Regions from separate parts of the Homo sapiens genome. Here region 1 is linked to region 2. Evidence: promoter capture Hi-C in human tissues and cell types (Jung and others, 2019). All regions are on one chromosome and are shown on one strand. Each heading gives the region's core, a stretch centred on a gene start or on the middle of the fragment in contact. The rest is flanking DNA. Distances are from core to core; before and after follow the strand shown.

What was found. The method cuts DNA at HindIII sites, captures the fragments that hold promoters and counts their contacts. A contact is called where the count stands out against the background at its distance.
Region 1: a fragment that was not itself captured here is called in contact with the fragment with the promoter of TRIM32 in region 2 in 1 of the 25 tissues and cell types used here (dorsolateral prefrontal cortex).

Annotation. Positions count from the first base shown.
Region 1 is chr9:115,596,830-115,602,489 of GRCh38, forward strand. It overlaps LOC105376235 (a long non-coding RNA gene), which reads left to right. Exons shown (of 7, transcript XR_930270.3): 2 at 200-280. Among named protein-coding and RNA genes, the nearest start is that of LINC00474, 330 kb to the right of the region's middle. The HindIII fragment of the contact is 4,569 bases long and covers 1,928-5,660 here.
Region 2 is chr9:116,682,851-116,689,003 of GRCh38, forward strand. It overlaps TRIM32 (tripartite motif containing 32), which reads left to right and starts at 4,455. Exons shown (of 2, transcript NM_012210.4): 1 at 4,455-4,531. The region is part of intron 16 of ASTN2 (astrotactin 2); the gene reads right to left. RefSeq lists enhancers at 4,122-4,441, 4,882-4,931 and a silencer at 4,512-4,711. The HindIII fragment of the contact is 20,788 bases long and covers 1-6,153 here.

The DNA.
Region 1 (5,660 bases), core at 2,962-5,461, 1.1 Mb before region 2:
ACAAATAAAAGGGACTTTCAAGTTAAGAGAGCCATGTAATCCTGTGGAAGATGTTTCAGCAAATTGCTATGTAAAAACCAACACCATTGCTACACTAGGCTAGTCTTGCAGATTTTCCTCCTGTGTCCAATCTGGCATCTCAGAGCACTAAAACCCTACTCCCTCTTACGTTCTGGTCTTTCTTTTATTCAAAATCCAGGTCGGAAAATGTCCCCTGAATATTTATGTCAATGTCCTACCTTAGTGAATATTACTTAATACTGTGGCTCCTTTAAAGCATGTAAGTAGCTTGCATGTAAGTACATTCTGACTACTTTTTTTTAATTATCCTTTCCCTCCTCCTCCTCTTTCTCCTTTTATATCTTCTTTTCCTTATCCTTTCTATTTTTTTTTAATTTTCCTTTTTCACTGTGATCATTAAGCCATATGCTACAGGGTACTGTGCAATCTACAGAGGGAGAAAGTTAAAATAAGATGGGTTTTGGAGGTAAATATCCTACTTGTAAATGCTGCCTTGGTAGAGACTGGCTGTGGGAAATCAAGCAACTTCTGAAACTTTACAAGACAGATTTCTCATCTACAACATGAAGAAAATAATCCATTGTCCACAGGCTTCTTGTGAGGGTAAACAGACTGAGTAGATTAAAGCACCACAGTACAATCTGGGATAAATGGGCACTTGACATTTGTGAGTTTCTGCAATCTCCTTTGATCATGAGCTCAGATGGTAGGCACTGGGAGTTCTGTTTCATACAAGCACAATTATGGAGCCCTGGGGGAGTAAGTTCCAAAGGGATATCTCCCTAGATGATTCTACCAACCCTCATTTTCCCCCACGGAGCAATTAAACCATCTGACCAAGAAGGTAGTTAGCACGGGGTTTAAGGAAGGTAGGTTAAGGAGTAGGAGAGAACTGAATTGGAGCCCAGCTGCTCTACTGACTAGCTCTTGATGTTGGTCAAGTGCCCAACACTTGTATTTAAACTCAAGTATGTTTTCCACACGTACAAAAATGGAGACAACCTACTTCATTTACCTTTGTGGTGAGGAGCTAGCAAATGTTAAGCACTTCAAATGATATCTGGCACACAGCAAATTTGGTTACTGTTATTTTTTCAAGAATAGCCCCAAGAGGGTACATGCTTAGGACCATAGGACTTCAGTAGAGTAAGAGGGCACAGTGAGCTGGTAAAAACCATGCTTTTCACCTGGGTGGGTTAGGCTCCCACCTCTTTCCCTCACTAATAACAGATTAGTATTGCATACACAGTTCTGGCCCAGTGCAAGGATTACCTGTCCCATGAAGCCTTCTAAATTCCATCTCCCTCCTCTTGTCCACCTCCAGAAGTGGCCATTCTTCTCTCTGAGTTTCTGGGGCACTGTGTGTCTCTTGTCTGTGTCAGTGAGCACTCTCTGGTGCCACAGAAATTGATACTCATGCTTCATTTTTCATGCCTGGACATGGTATCCTTTAGGACACAGACCATGGCTTTTACCTCTTAATCTATCTTTTGGGACAAGTTTATCAATTCAATATACATGAAATAAACAGATTGGCAAATGAGTCATCTGTCAAATGCATACTATAGTAATTTTTTTGGAGTTTATGGGATTGTGAAGTAAATGTCATGAGCAAAGAGACATGATGAACCTTTGAAACTGATTTGGTCTCTTCAGAATATCCAGTAAGATATTTTAGACAGTAGTTTTAAACTTGGTTCAGCCATTCAGAAGGAAGTAAGACCATTGATTTGTATCAGACACCGTAGAATTCTTAAATTGCAAAGGGATATACTAAGTAAACAAAAGGAGAGGCTTGCTCATACCCTGAATTAGTTGTCAAAATTGTCAAAGTAACTCAATGTTGTTGATTGCTGTCAAAGAACAGACTGAAAGAAAAACAACTATGTCTCAAATGCCCAGCAACTGAGTGGGTAGAGAGGTTTTATTGTGCTGGTCATAAATAGTTTTCACAAAGTTAGAGTGCTTACTTGAACCCTGCTTGAACTAGCTGGATGCTGGTGCATTCACTACTGAGAGAAGAATTTCTTAAAGGGTTTGGGTTGCTCCCACTTCTTGTCATGGAGTCAGCCAATTTTTATGTCTGTTTATTACTTTGTAGCCCAGCTGGACCCCAGAAGGATGGGCTATTTTCCCCAGAAGGATGGAAAATAACACAAATGCACACAGTTACCAAAATGAAGCCAGAAATCTTCTGGAGCTTAGACAAACATTAGTCTTGTAAATAAATACATTATGAGACCACACAAATACTTCCTACCAGGTCTCTTCCTCAGAAGTCACACTCCAGATAGCTTCTTTAATTTGCCCAGGTTCATATAATTAAGACATATTTATTGATTACCTACTGGGTGACAAACCCTAAGCTATATATTCCCAGAGACATAGTGACAAACTCTCTTGTTTCTTCTACAGAGTTAGAGGTACATATGTAGAAACAAATGCACAAACCTAAGTCAATTAGCAGCAAATGCAAGCCAGGATGAATACCAGCTTGTGATATGTTGGGATACAGATTGCCAAGGAAGGGGTCTGAGTCCCATCACTGCTACCAACTTGCTGGATGAGCATTTATCCATTTATTCATTTCATTAAAAACAACAACAACAACTAAACATAGTAGGTCAGGCCCTGTGCTAGGCACTGAGGGTAGCTTCAACAAGTCATTTAATTTGTTTATTTATTCACTTATTGAAGAGTTAATGAAAATGTAATAGGCGAGGCACTGTGCTAAGTGCTGAAGAAAGGGGAAGACACAGTCCCTGCCCTCTGGGGGTCAGGCTCCTCATCAGTACAATGGTGTGTACTGGGGAAAAGAAAGTAGAGGATCCATTGGTCTCTAATGTTCTTTCTGCCAAGAATATGCTAAGCAGTGGATTGGAGGATATTATGGTTCATTCGCTAAGTGTCAGGTCAAGATGATGAATGGTCATTTGTAAAAATGGAATAAACCACTAGACCTTGAATTATAGACTTTTGCATGGGGATCTTCTGAGAGCCTCAAGCACAGCACTTGTATGCCTATGCATTCCTTTAGGAATACAAGTCAATTCTGTTCGTCTTCTTGTACATACACATCTCTTTATAGTTTACAATGCACTTCCATGTGGAGTTTTATTTGCTCTACATAACAACTTTATGAAGTCAGGGTTTTAACATGCTCTTTTTAAAGATAAAGAACCAAGTCCACAAGAAACTGAATTTACTTACTAGTGTCAGTGAGGAGTAGAGCTGGGACCAGAGCCCATGTTTCTGACTTCATAGTCTGGTTCTCCTGCAGTGACAGCAATATTCATTCATTTGGTGGGTGTATTTTGAGGACAAGTTATGGCTCAGGTTTTGAGGACCAGTTATGGCCCAGGTTTTATGAGGTCCTGGAGAAGTCCTGAAGAACCAGGCAGCAATTTCAATGGTTTTACAGTCAGCTCTCTAATTCTTGTCTGAAATTAACAGGAATTCACACTGCTTTGTAGTTTACAGTTTTACATAGAATTTAAAGCAAAAGCTGCTAGGATCAGAAGTTCCTTCAGGCCGGGTGCCAGGTAGGAAAATCAACACTTTGTGTGAAGTACTTGATGAAACACTTTTATATCTTCATATCAATTTGATTAATGCATCATATAGAATATTATCTCTATTTATTGACAATGAAGTATAGATTCTGAGAGACTCAAAATTATACACGTGGTTAATAGAATATCTATAATTTAATCCCAAGTCACTTGAGTCTCTGTCAAGCAGTGCTTTGTTATGTTCAATCCTTAAACTACACTCCATCCATCTGCACCATATTTAGTGCCTGGGAGGGTACTTTACCTAGAGCAGTAGCTCGTGTCAATTGGGCACAGAGTAATTTCATTTCTGAATGGGCCACACATTCAGCTTCTAGCATCTAACTGTCACCAAGTCTGAAAGGTATCTTTCCTCCTGGAAAGAAGAGCACAGTGAGAGTGTGAAATGTGGAGAAGGATTGAGAAGAAAAGATAAAGGAATTATACAGAAGGAGAGGAAGAAAGACCAAGGGCTTTGGGGTTAGATCGACCAGGGTTTGATCTTAATGTTGTTACTGACTTACGTACAACTTAGATCAAGCATTTCAACTTTCACAGATTATGGGGTGGTTAGGAGAATTAAGGGCAATAATATTTGGTGAACATTTAGCACAGTGCCTGGTCTATAAAAAAATACTCCATAAATATGAGTTATTTTTATTATTCAAGGCAGAGAGAAGGTAGGGTCAAATACAGGGTTGTAAGGAAGTACGTGATATATTTGGGGGGAACTTTGAGAAATATAGAAAGATAAAATATGGGGAATGTGTGGGACATAGGAGGAGATGAAGTTGAAATAATACTATGGTGCCAATTTCAAAGGGCTGTCAATGTCAATCTAAGAGATTAGGGCCTATTCTGTTGTTACAAGTGGGCTATAACCAGCTGAGTGTTTTATAAACATCACTGTGAGAATGGACTGGAGTAGGGAAAAGAGTATACATGGAGAGATGTTGAGAAGCTAGATCAAGATAGAGTAGCATTTACATGGCGCCTTTCCCCCTGACTTGCCTTTAACAATACCTGAAATCAAAAGCGCCTGATGCCTAATTGTATAAACCTGAACCCCTCTGAGTTAGTCCAAGACACAAATCTTCATCCACTGCATCGTTGGAAAGGATATATACATATATTTTATAATGCATTAGCCTTTTTGGACTGTGTCCACGTCATAGAGGTTTTCTAATCTATTTTGAGCCCTAATTGATTACAGCATTTGGAAAAATGCACAGCAAATTGCTCCATTAATCAAGGTAAATCAAGCTGATGTCATAGATGCTAAATATATGTCTTTGCAGTAATACTATTTGCATGACTGGAGCTAAAGCTGTTGTCAGTTTTTCCACTTGACAGTCACTGTCTTCTCATGAGACCATGGCTTAATCTCTAAAAGCACTTGGTGGTTCTTCTCCATGGCTGGGTTCTTGGGTCCTTCTCCCCACATTTAAGGCAAAGGTTGTAGGAGAGGGTGAGACTGCCTCCTTATGTACAGAAAAAGGCAGTGAGAAGGAGGTCATAGCACAAAGGCTAGGAAGATGGGGAAGGAGATAGGGAAGGCAAAGGATTTTATGAAACCAGAAGGACCCTATTTTATGAAGTCAGAAGGACCCTGGCATGTCACATTCCTTGGCTGATGAGAGAATTGAGGAATTAGAGCTTTGTTGAGATAGAGATCACAGTATGGAAGAAGGCACAAAGACCATCCAGTCTTCCTGATAAGACCTCTGAAGCACACAGATAGAAAGGAATTTATCAGAGATCACACAGAAAATTACTCTCGGAGCTGGTATTATACTAAGAATCGGGTGTCCTGACTCCTCATGTAGTGCTCTTTCTACATGATAGAAAGCATTGTTGTCTTACATTTTTTCTCCTTTCTCACTTTCATCCCTAATATTTATCATTATCTTAAGGTTCAATATGTGCCAAGTTGTGTAATAAGTGCTCAATATTATTACAATGAGGTAAGATTAATATTACTTTTATTTTCATTCTTAAAATGAGAAAATGGAGACTCAAAGAGGTGAAGTAACTTGACCAAAGGAGCTCTGCTACTCAGGGATAATGGAGATTCAAATGGGAATATCT
Region 2 (6,153 bases), core at 3,205-5,704:
GAACATCACACTCTGGGGACTGTTGTGGGGTGGAGGGAGAGGGGAGGGATAGCATTAGGAGACATACCTAATGCTAAATGACGAGTTAATGGGTGCAGCACACCAGCATGGCACATGTATACATAGGTAACTAACCTGCACATTGTGCACATGTACCCTAAAACTTAAAGTATAATAATAATAAAATAAAATAAAAAATAAAAAATAAATTAAAAAAAAAAGTGTGGCTGCCCTAAAATGTTTTTGTCATCCATATACAATTGTTGTCTCGCTTTGGTCCTCTTTAACGGATGGTTTTATAATCAGCTATAAAATTTAACAGGCCCTCTTAAATGCAGGTTTCTGATTAAAAACTCTGGAGACTGTGATATTAGAATCGAGGAAAAACTTTCAAATTGAAGAGTGAATAGTGTTTGGTTTTCTTTGGACTATATTTGTATAAATATGTTATTAGTATGTGTTCCAGAAATTATGGGAAACTTCTATAATTCTGATATGATTTAGAGTACATTATTAATAATTATAATTGTTATATAAAAGTGTTGTATGCCACAGAAGTAACCAAGATTCCTAGTCAATTGCAGCTTTAATAGTAGCTATAGACTTTTGTCATCCATAGACATTTTGTCTTGCTTTTGTCCTTTTCAAAAGGCAGTTTATAATCAGATATCACACTCTGAGTGCAGGTCTCAGATAACTTTAAAAATTGTTTTATTGGAATAGAGGAAAAAATGAAACTTCTAGGCTTCTCACAGATAGCTGATGTGTTAAGCATTGCTAATCCTCTCATTTTCAGAGTCAAGATAGCATATTTCTTTAGAGTTATTTGCAACTTTTAACAAATGAGTAAAAAATACTTCCATGAAAAAAATTTAGAGCATATTTGTTTCTCTCTACCTGATTTCTCCTGAATATGGAAACTATTTGTAAGTATTCTCAATTTATGCCAGTATACTTAATTGCATAAGTGCAGTAAGAATCTGTTTTTGTCTTGTAACAGGACACAACTGGAGAAATTGATTATTTTACCAAGGCTTTTACTGGAATGGCATGCTTCCTTCAAAGAATCAAAATTAATGTATAGAGCCAATTAAAGCCCCCTGGGGAATCTAACCTCAGACCTTGTCTATAGTCCCTGTACAAGGTTCTGTCATACAGTCCCTGTACAAGGTTCCTGACCTGTGGTAAGTAAAGAATGTCACTTTCTAACAGGCCCAGGAACCCCAAGTTATTTTGGGACCTTGAGAAGAGAGGAATTTACCCAACTCATAGGTATTTGAGGATACAAACCCATGGCTGAGCTTGGCTTTTAAAAACTCTTATCTGAGATTCCTCATGGAACAGAGTTCCATCAAAGCTAATTTAAACAAAAAAGACCCTAAGTGAAAAATAATTATTCTTGCTGCACTTTATGCAAATAATCAGGCCAAGTATAGTAAGACTAAAGTACATTTCTGTAAACAAATCAGTTCTATCATGATTTGTTTTTAATAAAAATGGGGTCTGGAGAGAGAGAAATTATGCTTCAAGAGGAAACCTATTGTTAGCTGTTGTTAGCTGTCCTTGAGTTTTTTCTACAATTTTGACTAAATCCTAAATTATTTGTGGGTTGGAAGTCGCCAGACTAATGCTTTCAAATCTTTGCTTTTAAAATTGAGTATTGTACTCCTCATCCTAGGACTCATTATTTACCTTATAGTAGGCTGTTCACCTAAATACTGTACTAAAACTATAGATGAGAGTACTAATGTTTTTGCCATGCAAGCCTTAGAAGCCCAGCCAGACCTGCATGAGTCGCTCAGACACTTGAAAGTGGTCCCACTCTTCTCACCTTGGGGTTGACTCCCATTCCCACTACGTCCCCTGTCAGCAAGAAGAACCCAGAGCAATCGACAGCCTTTTCCCATCTTCATACCCTACACTTTAAGATTAAGGTGTTACAAAACCCAAAGTGATGGACTGAAACTGCCTTTGCAAAATTATGATTGAGACAGTAAAAGAGATCTAACTTAACTGACTCCATCTTGCTTCTAACTTCCAAGCTGTCCTTGTTCATTCCTGGGCATAGGCTGAACTAACTTTGGGAGAAATTTAGTCTGTAGTTCATAGTTTAAACAAAGACAGTAACAACCCTATCCCAAAGCAGACCTCCTTGCCTGGGTACTAGATTGCCTTTGTAGGACTAACATTAGCCACAAGATTAGAAATTGCGGTTTAGGAGTCATGCAGCTGGAGGTTACAAGATGCTGAGCCTCCCTAAAATGCTTCTGAGATCAGTGCTTGAGATATTTTGCAGACCCTGCACTTGATGGATCAGCTGGCACCACCCAGATCAATAAACTCACTCATCTGATCTTGTGGCCCCCCCACTCAGGAACTGACTCACTGCAAGGAGACAGCTTCGACTCCCTATGATTTCATCCCTGACCAACAGCGCTCCTGGCTCACTGGCTTCCCCCAACCCACCAAGTTATCCTTAAAATCTCTGTTCCCCAAATGCTCAGGGAGATGACTTGAGTAATCATAAAACTCCAGTCTCCCGCACAGCTGACTCTGCGTGAATTACTCTTTAACTATTGCAATTCCCCTGTCTTGATGAATCAGCTCTGTCTAGGCAGTGGGCAAGGTAAACTCCTCAGGTGGTTCCACTGATATAGGTGATTTAAGTGTTAAATAAAAATCTGTTACATTAAAATGCTGAATAAAGAGTGTTTAAAGCACTCCACAAAGATTATTTTTTAAATGCCTCTGTGTAAGAGGAATTCTAATATTGTGCCAGGATATGTCAAGCTATAAGATAAAAATTGAGTGCATTTCCTAGAATGCTTATTCTACTCTAAGATTTTGTGAGAGGTATAATAATTCATTTAACTGGTAATAAACATTAAAGAAGAGTCAAACACTGATTTTTGTTTTAAGGGAGAAGAGAGATTTTTTTTTTTCAAGACACTTGCTTGAGCTAGATCCCCAGGAGTATTTTTAACACTCCTCTGTAATTAGGGAAACATCAGTATGTCTGTATTGATACATATACACACATATATAATATGTATATATGTAAGACTATGAACAGTCCTAAATTTATACTTTGGGCTGATAACTGTGGTTTTCAGGAAAAAAAAAAATTTTAAACGGGTGCAAAGTCTCCCCAACTGGTCTAAGTGAGAAATCATTTGGCATTACCTCTCCCTTATCCCCTACCTGCTAATTACAATTTTTCAAATATAGTTATCATTAAGTGCAAACTACCATAATCTTGGCTTATCTTCATGGCAAACTTCAATTAGAAATTTAGAAAATGGGGAGAAAGAGTAAACAAGGTTAAGAGAGTGGGTTCTCAGATAGAATTGGGTACAAATTTGGGCTCCAACACTTAGGTATATGTGGCCTTGTGTAACCACCTAGGTTACACAACAGGTGTAGGTTAACCATCAGCTGCCTTATCTCATTAGGTCCTTATGAGGATTTAGTGAGCTATGCACCTGAAGTCCTCAGCTGTAGCCAGACAGCAAGTGTTCAAAGATGTTAGTCATTGTTTTTGTTTATTGTTTTATCATTGTGCAGGGTCACATAGCTAAGGGGAATTTCAAATCCAAGTCCATCCTACTTCAAACTCCTTTGTGCTCCTAAGCTGTACAGTATAGTCACCTTGGAGAGTAGGTGATTGGCCCCAAACTACTTCAGGGACTGCAGGTCGTGGCCAGCCAGTCCTGTATCAGACCTCGTCCTTGCCAGATGCCTAGTGCCCCAGATTCCCTCAAATCTCAGGCCAGATCACCTCCCACCTGGTAAGATTCCTCCACCTTCACCCGAGCAAAACTACACTTGGTTTGGGTTCCCGGGTACCTTCAGTCTGCAGGGACAGGGGCTGCAGAGTGTACTCCCCAAGTCTGCCTCTGCTGTCGGCCTCCCAGCTGAGTAGGCAAAACATTCCTTTACAGAGCAATGTGTTCATGGATAAACTTGTCTCTAGTGCAGCTCTCTGTCAGAGCACAGAACATGAGGCCAAAGCACTGCCCTTCCTAGGGAGTCCCGGTTCTCGACTTCCCCAGAATGGAAGTTTGATTTTTCCGTTGGCCCATTTCTCAGATGGAAAAACAGATTCAGTAAGGTGCCAACGCTTTGCTGAGGACTACCCTGGAGGCTACCGTTTTGTGAAGGGGTAGACATTGAGACTGGAGTCAGATACGCATTCTGGCTTATCTCCTGACTTACTGAGTGAACTTGAGCAGGTCCCTTTCGCCCATGGGCGTCGGTTTCTTCATCTGCACCAAGGAGACGGAAAACTGGATTACGTGTCGCTAAGGCCCCGGGTTCTCAGAGGAAAGCTCACCCCTGCAGGGCCGCCTTGCCCCGCGCGCTTGGGGCCAGCTGCACGACAAGCCCCAGCATGCTGGGGAGGCGGGGCTCAGTGACGGACAGGGAGCTCTGCGAATTGGCGCCCGGCAAGGGGTGCTCAACGGCGCGTGCGCAGAGGGAGGCAGGCGGGTGGGCTGCCGGCGGTGGACTCGTCGGAGCCGCGGGCGGTCAGGTAGGGGGCGGGAAGGAGGGTTGGGGACTGGGGACCGCGGCCGGAGTCGTGGGCCGTGGCTCAGCGGCCAGGCGGGGGAACGTGCCGGCGTGCAGCGGCCGCGCCCGAATGGCAGGGTGTGGGGACCGGATCTGGGGGGGGCAGGACTAGGGTGGGGGTGGGGCTGCGAGGGGCAGGCTCGGGAGGGATTCGTGGGGCTGAGGAGATCCGAGGAGATGCAGCTGGGGGAGGGGAGCGAGGGGCTCTGAAGAGATTTGCGGTTGCAGCATCTCGGGAGGTATGAGGTAATGTCGGGGCCCTGAGGAGGAACGGGGTGTAGCATGTGGGAGATGGGAGGGAATCAGGGCCCTGGAGGGACCTGGGTGCAGAATTTCAGAAATATGAAGGAACTGGGGGGCCCCGATGAGATTTGAGGAAATCTGGGGGCGCTAGGCATCTGGCAAGGACAGGGTCTGAGATGATAGGAGCAAGGTCTAGGGCGATCCTAAGTGCTATTGAGAAAGGGTTTTCGGAGTGGGCTGAGGGTGAGATTGAGGGGGTGGGGTGAGTTCTTGAGGGACTCTATCTTGTTAGCAGAAAGAAGGGAGCTGGCTGAGGTGTGAAGGCAGCACATGACATTCAGTGCATAAGAGGAAGGAGCAGGGTATGAGGGCAGCACAGTGCCCGATGGAATGCAGGAGATGGGGGCTCAGATTGAGGGAGAGCAGAAATCTGGGGTGAGGAATTGGGGCGTTGAACTGAGGTGCGGGGCTGAGTGTGGCAGAGATTTGGAAATAGGGATTAAACGATCTGAGTCCGAGGGATTTGGGGCATATGAGTGAGGAATTGACGAGGGTTGCAATATACAGCCCCAAAGATTGGAATTTGGAATTGTAAGAGGGTTGGGGACAGGGTTTGGAGAGGATTGAATCGTGGGGTGGAGATGTCCTAACTGGGCTATAAAATCAAAGGACCCTGAGTAGATTTGTGGATTGGTGTCTTGGGCTGCTAAAGAGATTTTCCTTAAATCGCTGCATGGGAGACAGAGGGAGTTCAGGGGACCCAAGGACCTAAAAGTAATGTATGAAACTGGATGAGTATATGAAGATGAGCAGAGTTCAGGTGCTGAGGAACAAAGTGATAAATCTTCAGTTCAGATAATCCTGAAGGAGTGTGGTAATCCCTGTGAAGGGCAGAATCTTCTTCATTTATTAAACAAAGATCCGTTATCATGAGGCAGGTATGGTATTGCCACTAACTCCATTCTGACCACCGGTCCCCCGGCCCACTGAAAGTGGTAGGCTTTGGGGAAGAAGAAGTGGAACTATTCAAGGTCATCTGCCTAAGCCCTTTTTCCCTGTACCCCCAAGCTACGATAGCAGATAGAAAGTGAGACCTCCAGGGGAATGAGTGGAATAATTTATCCTATATAAGATCCATTACAGCTTGAAGGGGCAGTGGCTCTGTGAGTGAGGTGTTTGGGCTCGGAGACAGACAAAACAACAACAACAACCACCAGAAAAAAAAAAGGGAACCCTTAGGTATTGAGCATTTAGTCCTGTGCTAGACTGTAAAGCAGTGGTTCTTAACCAAGTCTGGCTTTGTCTCCTAGGAGACATTAGGCAATGTCTGGAGATGTTTTT